2 separate regions of the Homo sapiens genome follow, and region 1 is linked to region 2. Evidence: promoter capture Hi-C in 16 types of primary human blood cells and fetal thymus (Javierre and others, 2016). All regions are on one chromosome and are shown on one strand. Each heading gives the region's core, a stretch centred on a gene start or on the middle of the fragment in contact. The rest is flanking DNA. Distances are from core to core; before and after follow the strand shown. Region 1 overlaps DNAJB11 (DnaJ heat shock protein family (Hsp40) member B11). Region 2 holds the start of TTC14 (tetratricopeptide repeat domain 14).

What was found. Contacts are between HindIII fragments. The CHiCAGO score rates a contact against its expected background, and 5 or more counts as called.
Region 1: a fragment that was not itself captured here is called in contact with the fragment with the promoter of TTC14 in region 2 in 1 of 17 cell types (naive CD8 T cells); the score reaches 5.4 in naive CD8 T cells.

The regions. Positions count from the first base shown.
Region 1 is chr3:186,572,868-186,576,823 of GRCh38, forward strand. It overlaps DNAJB11 (DnaJ heat shock protein family (Hsp40) member B11), which reads left to right. Exons shown (of 10, transcript NM_016306.6): 3 at 2,973-3,070. Among named protein-coding and RNA genes, the nearest start is that of DNAJB11, 4.1 kb to the left of the region's middle. The HindIII fragment of the contact is 994 bases long and covers 1,154-2,147 here.
Region 2 is chr3:180,599,462-180,603,433 of GRCh38, forward strand. TTC14 (tetratricopeptide repeat domain 14) reads left to right here and starts at 2,702. Exons shown (of 12, transcript NM_133462.4): 1 at 2,702-2,961; 2 at 3,430-3,554; 3 at 3,663-3,862. The coding sequence starts at 2,801. TTC14-DT (TTC14 divergent transcript) reads right to left here and starts at 2,652. Exons shown (of 3, transcript NR_183700.1): 1 at 2,442-2,652. RefSeq lists an enhancer at 2,493-2,782. The HindIII fragment of the contact is 2,365 bases long and covers 2,358-3,972 here.

The DNA.
Region 1 (3,956 bases), core at 401-2,900, 6.0 Mb after region 2:
TTCCTGGATGATTTAATTTTTCAAGAAAAGTTGAAAATCTAGATTTTTTATATGAGTTCTGCTTGTAAAAGTGTTGGTAACTAATTCAGTTAAATTTCTTTTTTACATAAATCAAACAGAGCACAGTTTTAATTTGATTTTGCAACCTCTAATCTGGGGATCAAAACACTCTCATGTGTATCATCTCATTTAATCTTCACTAGGACACCAGGAAATATATTAGAGCTAGGCATATTTTTATTCTCATTTTCTAAATGGACACAGAAAAAAATTAATTGAACTAAAAGTCATAGAGCTAAAACTCCTGAATTTAAGTTTAAATTCTTGTATATTGAGAAGGCTAAAAACAAATTGAAAAATATTTTAGGAAGACACAAACCTTGAAAGGAAGGAATCCCAAGATCTCTAGATTAAAGAAGCAATGGAATTGAAACAGTGAGTTATACCCAGGTGAACCCAAGAGCTGTTGGGGTCCTTTCATCTTTCAACACCTTCAGGGATCCTATGGGGCAGAAATTCTTTTTTATTTTTTTTTGAGACAGAGTCTCGCTCTGTCTGCCAAGCTGGAGTAGAGTGGCACGATCTCGGCTCACTGCAAGCTCCGCCTCCTGGGTTTTACGCCATTCTCCTGCCTCAGCCTCCTGAGTAGCTGGGACTACAGCTGTGCACCACCATGCCCAGCTAATTTTTTGTATTTTTAGTAGAGACAGGGTTTCACTGTGTTACCCAGGATGGTCTCGATCTCCTGACCTCATGATCCACCCGCCTCGGCTTCCCAAAGTGCTGGGATTACAGGCATGAGCCACCGTGCCTGGCCAAGGGACAGAAATTCTTAACCTGAGGCACATCAATAAACTTGGGAAGGTTAATGGCCCATCCTAAATTATATGTAATATTTTGTTTCTTGTTGATAATATGCATTCTATATTTTGCACTGTATTTTCCATGAATAGTCCCCTTGTTTGCTAGGAACCTAATACTCAAAAACATTTTCTAGGGAAGCTGAATTTACCATGCTCTCTAAAGAATCTTCACGTTCTTTATCAATGACCTAGGCAGGCTATACAAAGGTCAGTCATGAAATCGTGGCTTATTTAACTATAACAATCCTTTTAGCCACTAGTTCAAATTTCTGTTTTCTTTTTATCATTCAAGCTTGATTGCCTTTAGTCTTAGGTAAATTAGTGTTCACAAATTAGAATCCGAGTACAGTTATGAAGAATCTTTTGTGAATACAAATTTGTTTTCTCTACAGAGCTAGGATCACTGCTGGCATTTTAATTACTTGAGAATCTGTGTATTGGTTGGCCAATCAACTAAAAACCTTTTTTCTTTTAAAATAGTTTCCAAGACCATAGAATAAAATTGCATTCCTTGATGGAAGAAAAGTGAGGAGGAAGTAAATGATAATGACTTCAAGAGTAGTTTTTAGGGGGTTATTACAGAAGCCTCTGATGTCTAAAAAGAAACTGACTTAAAACTAGTCTTTGGGGGTTTTGAAATGGTGTTTTTTATAGTCTCAAATGCAGGGTTCATTTATTTGTGAAGATCAGATCAGAGAAGTAGACTAAAAGTGAAAATATTGGAGATCCAGTTAATAATAAGGGTTTTTTTTTTTTTCAAGTTAATTGTGCCCATTTCTGCTTCCCCAAAGTACCTATTTTCTAAAGATACTTGTGAAAACATGCTTTCCTCTCCCTTTTTCTTTCATAGTGGCTGTAATCAAGTACTGTGGTCACTTCTGGAATAACCCATTTGCCTTTGCTTTTAAGAATGTTCACTCTCTTGTATACTCAATTTCTATTTATCCTTTCAAGGATATCTTAAATGTTAATACATTTTTGCCATGACTCCTTACACCTCATTTGGGCCCTAAGCCAAAAATGTGTCCTGTGTGAATATGCCTTTCTTTTAAGTCAACAAGCCCCGTCTACTTTGAACCTCTCTTTTTCTGGGCCACCATGAGTGTGGTTTTGAAATAACTCTCTCCTTCAGACTCTTGTCTAAGTAGGAGTTTATAAATATCAAAGGAAGATTTTAAAGCCATTTAATTTTCACAAGTATATATGTGCATATATATCAGATTGCTCTAAATAAAAGAGAAAGTTTTTTTTTGCATGTTGAAGGCAAATTTTGAAAAGGATGGAAGCTTATTTTGTTGTTACATTCTTTAATATACAGAGAGAAAGCATATAGTCATGATTGTGTATGTAGTTCTCTGAAACTTAAAACTTCAAGAATTATTTCAAGCAATGAAATTGACCTTGAATAACCTTCATAGAGTATTTTTACTTACTACTCTTTCTGCATTTCAAACTCAGGACATTACAAACTTAAACATATATATATATGGCAGGCAAAATTCTTCCACAAATGGATTTCTGCATATACCAAAAAATGAAAAAAGGAGGATGAAAAGATATCAGTGTAGGCCTCTCTGGAGGGCCTGTCATTTGATTTCCTTGACTTGACAATCTCCTAATACATGCGCGCGCGCGCGCGTGTGTGTGTGTGTGTGTGTGTGTCTGTGTGTGTGTGTTTTGGGTAGGGGGTGTTATAGACCTGTGGGGCCAAGTTGTTCTGAAGGCAGTATAGTGGTTAACAGCATAAGCACCAAAGTCAAACTGCATGGGAAGTAAACCTGAGGAATCCGTCTTAACTCTTTCCTGTCACCACCCTGACCTTCACAGCTGCATTGCTAATCTCAGGTATTATTTTTTAGTGACTACACGAGTTTTGAGAACTTTAAATTAAAAACATGAATGGAGCAATGTGGAATGAACAGTGCATCAAAGAATTTAGTCTTAGAGAAAATAACTTTGTAAATATGCCTTAATACAGTACATAATGGAAACTGCATTCTATTAAAATTTTAGACCCACTGTCAAAGTAAAAACAAACATAAATATGACTGTGCCTTAACTGGATATTACCAACTCATGATCTTTTCCTCCACTGGCTTTTATCCCCAGGTTCTGTCAGATAGTGAGAAACGGAAACAGTACGATACTTATGGTGAAGAAGGATTAAAAGATGGTCATCAGAGCTCCCATGGAGACATTTTTTCACAGTGAGTAATTTACCCATCTGCAAAGTGTTAGTGTCTGAGAGAGGGTCACTTAGCGATTAAAGAATTATTCTCATTCCCTAGTTCAGAAACTTTTGATGAACAGTACAATTTAGCTGATCCAAAGATCAATTATTGTCCTCCCTGTGGGAAGATAGTCTTCTATTTTCACAAAGCTTCAGGAAAGACTGATGGCACTGAAAGGACATTCCATCTAGCCAACCATATCAGTTAAATCAGTGCAGACAATTCACGGGGACATGTGTTGGAAATCAGTTCATCCTTGCCTACTTGCTACCTTGCAATCTGCAAACCACTTAATGAGCAAAATTATTGTTAGCAGAGATAGAAAAATTCCTGCTCCCATACCCAGAGCTGCCTCTCTTTCGTGCTATCAACAAGTGAGGGTGATTATAATAACCAGCATTAGGGGAAGGAATTAGGGTAGAGGACCTTTATCTCTTGCTTTCTGGGAGTGCTGGGTGGTTGGAATAATAAACACTTTCTTCCTCACTCTTTGAACCTCTCTTTATTGAGCATTTGAATTTCCACATTCCCTGATGATTACATATACTAAGAGACTTTAATCTGGGGTTTCAGGTCTGAAATTATAAACAAAAAGATGTTCGAATCTGCATTTTTATGGGGAGAGTTCATTGTTTTCTTCAGATTCTCAAAGGGTTCTGTGAACCCTTCCCCAAAAGAAGTAAGAATCACTGTTGCATATAGTAGTTACCACCATTTAGTGCTTGGTTGAGGGGCCTGGGGTGGGGGAGTAGATTTTTAGGGTCTGTAAAGATGTGTGAGTAACATGATTAGGACATCTTTTCCCCCCGCCAGGATCAATTTGGCTGGCTGAAGTGATCCCTAGGGAATACCAGAAAGAGAA
Region 2 (3,972 bases), core at 1,452-3,951:
AGAGTTATTTTCTTCACCTTTATATCTCTAGGGTCTAGAGTGTTTATTAAATAATGTACATATGTGTTTATTTAGAAATTGAATTTAACATTTACAATAAAAATAGGCACAGGAACCAGACATCAAAGATCTGACTGCTTTAGATGTCCTGCCTTCTTCCCCCAACCCCATCCCACACTTTCCCCTGTCCCTCTCCTCAACATATTCATTTAGTTATTTATGTTGCTTAATCTGGAAAAGTTTCTCGAAAAAGATTTTTTTAAGGTAAGGCAAGAAGTAAAAAAGAAAAACAGTATTTTCTTCGTCGCCCACTTGAGAGGCCCCACATGTGGGACTAGTTTTTCTAAAATGAGAAGCAAACCTAGTCCCATTTCCTTTCCTCACTCCCTCCAATCCCATGTCAAAGATCCAGTGCCCTGTCCCCTTCAAAGTCAAAGGGGTGTCTGTCTCAAAAGAAAATGAACTCAAATACACCTGTAATTGTAAAAGGCTTTATCCTCTGCAATGGGAGTAGTATTCCGGAAGTAAAGAATAAGACTGCCTTCGGCACCCAACTAATGTGGCTACTTTCACATAAGGAACTAACCAAAGACAGAAAATCCCACGCTGAGTTTTGAGTACATTTGCTTAAAGTGCATTTCTTCTGTCACTACTATACGAAAAATATCACTCTTGATAAATGCTGTTTACCCCCTAAAAGGAGCTGCTTTCTATGTTCACGGCCATTTCAGATGTTCAAGGTATGAGGTGGGGGAGGGTTATCCTAGTGTTGGAATTAGGAAGAAGTATAGACAGATCCCATAGTGATAAAACCATGTGCTACTGAAGAATGGCCTCAGAAGGTGACATTCCCAGGCTAAGTAACACTATTTGGTGTCTGGTTCTCAGACACCGGTTTCTTAGTCCCTCCAAAAAATGAGGTCCTTGATCACAGATTGACTCTAACACAAATCACATACTTATCAAGATGTCTATAATAATTTTTAGTGGTCAGCTTTCCTTTTCAGTGACAGCACTCTTTCCTAAAAACAACCATTCTCTAGAGTTATGGCTTAAAACAAGTCAGTCTGTACCATTTATTAAAGTTGATATGCCTATAGAAGCTTGAAATTTATTTATTTATTTATTTATTGAGACGGAGTCTCCCTCCGGCGCCCAAGCTGGACTGCCGTGGCGCGATCTCAGTTCATTACAACCCCCGCCTCCGGAGTTCAAGAGATTCTCGTGCCTCAGCCTCCCGAGTAGCTGGGACTACAGGCATGAGCCACCACGCTCGGCTAATTTTTGTATTTTTAGTAGAGACGGGGTTAGGCCATGGTGGCCAAGCTGGTCTCTGAACTCCTGACCTCAAGTGATCCACCCTCGGCCTCCCAAAGTACTGGGATTACAGGTGTGAGCCACCGTGCCTAACCCAAATTTATCTTTTACAGTTGCATTCTTGTTTGTTGCATTTTCTCAAGTCTCAAACTGTTTACCTATTTGCCTGGGTTTTCCACAAAACAGTGTGGCAGTATCGATTATGTTCTGGGCTAGATCTCCTATACAAAAGTGGTAACACAGTGAAAGGCAAGTTGATTTCCTCAAAGACACATGGTGGGAAGTGGAGAGACTAACTGTCACCGTTTATTTCTGTTCAAGAGGACTATACTGAACTATTTACACTGAACATATTTAAATGGTACAAATTTTATACTGGAATAAAACGAAGCTACATGATCTCAAAATTAGGGTTAGTTAGACCTTCCATATGATAAAATACTCAATCCAGCAACTCTGCCTGAGAAGACCAATTAATACTTCGTTTGGAATCCTAACTCTAGCCTCTTACTAGCTGTGTGCCATTGAGCAATTTACTGGGACTCTCTGAGCATGTTTCCTCGTTTTCTAAAATGAAAAAGTACAATAGCTACCATAGTGGTTAGGTTCTCAAGTCAGTAAGTAAGGGGATGGGGGACCTAAGTTGAAATTCCCTTTGAAAATCACTTGAATTGTCCATAAGAACAGTATATTGACTTTTGCGTACATACCACTATACAGTAAGTCCCACAGACACTAAATTTTGAGCAACCATTGAGATAAACTAAATAAGAAATGCATGTGTTCATTAGTTATTGTAAAACTTGAATGGCATATGCACGTGTGGAGACATTAAAGCCATCCTGGTTTTAGAATTCACAATCACTAACAGTAAATGGGGTATGGATGGAGAACACCACTCCAGGTGCTTAACAAATGTCCGTGTCCTTCCTTTCTTCTGCCCTTAAAACCACCTGGAAACCTTCCCGGAGCAGCCGGTTGAATGGGGTTACGCCAGAGACACAGGTATTGATTTACGCAGAGAGTACGTCGAGGGAAGAAGCTTGGAGACTCGTATAGGGTTCTTACCCTGGCACTGGCACTTAGAAGCACCTTGATGAATACGAAAAGGAATTATTATTTACCCTAGGTTACAGCTCGAGCTATTTCGACGTAATAACGATCCCACGTACACTTTAAAAAGCAAACTTCTCACATACATCACTTCCTGGAAGCCCTAGTCAGCCTTTAGCCCAAGCAATGCTGAGCCCAATCCTTCGGCCTTCCGTAGTCTCGCTCGGTTTCGCGAGATCGAGGCTGAGCTCCGCCGCGCCGCCGTGGGGGCGACCCCAGAACACTTCCGGGTGTAACTGGTTGTGCTGTCTGTGTACTTCCGGCAGCCTCCAGACAGTTTCTTCCGCTTCCTGTACCACCCGGCTCAAGTAGCGGACACGGAACAGGGAACTATCAGCCCGTCGGCCTCCGGGCCCTGCATTCTCTAGCCATGGACCGGGACCTTTTGCGGCAGTCGCTAAATTGCCACGGGTCGTCTTTGCTCTCTCTACTTCGGAGCGAACAGCAGGACAATCCACACTTCCGTAGCCTCCTGGGGTCGGCCGCCGAGCCAGCCCGGGGCCCGCCGCCCCAGCACCCGTTGCAGGGCAGGTAATGAGACGTTGGTGCCACTGCGCCACGGAAGAGGGGACGCAGCTCTGGCAGCCACTACCGCAGCCCCGGGTTTGCGTCTAGAGGAAGTGGAGCCGCGGCCGTGAGCACAGGACGATCGCGCGCTGGTGTCTTGGGCTGGGTGGACGGGGGGCGCTCCTGGGTTGTGCAATGCGGGATGCGGGCTGAACTTTTTCTCTGGCACTGCTTGGTAGAGGCGCAGATTCCTTAGCTAAAAATCCCTTGAGCTTTCCTATCTGAGTTGGAGGCGTCACTTTTTAAGTTTCCCCGCTCTCCACCTCCAGGTTGGTTAATGAGGGAATGCCTAGTTAAAACTTTTTGTCTGAGGTTGTATTGTCTGCAGCTTAGGATGGAGCGGAATGGGCGATGAAAGCCATAAGCAGAAGGTTAGAAGTAAAGAGGCTTTGCAGATAACCCAATTTTCATATATATTTTTTTCTTTTTAAGAAAAGAGAAGAGAGTTGACAACATCGAGATACAGAAATTCATCTCCAAAAAAGCGGATCTGCTTTTTGCACTTTCCTGGAAATCAGATGCACCTGCAACTTCTGAAATTAATGAAGACAGTGAAGGTCAGTTTAGCCTTAAAATCTTTAAGATTGCGGTTCGGTTTAACAGTACTTCAGGTGAAACGGAACTCAAAACTATCGTTAGTGATTTTGTTAATTTTTTTTTTTTAGATCATTATGCAATCATGCCACCTTTAGAGCAATTCATGGAGATACCTAGTATGGATCGGAGAGAGCTGTTTTTCCGAGATATTGAGCGTGGTGATATAGTGATTGGAAGAATTAGTTCTATTCGGGAATTCGGTTTTTTCATGGTGTTGATCTGTTTAGGAAGTGGTATCATGAGAGATATAGCCCACTTAGAAATCACAGTAAGTTATTTTTGTTACTTGGATTGCTTCTGTTTTTGTTAACGCATCTCAATGCAAGAACTATATCTTTGCATGCAGTTGTGCTCAAGTATACCTGCCAAGATGCTTTT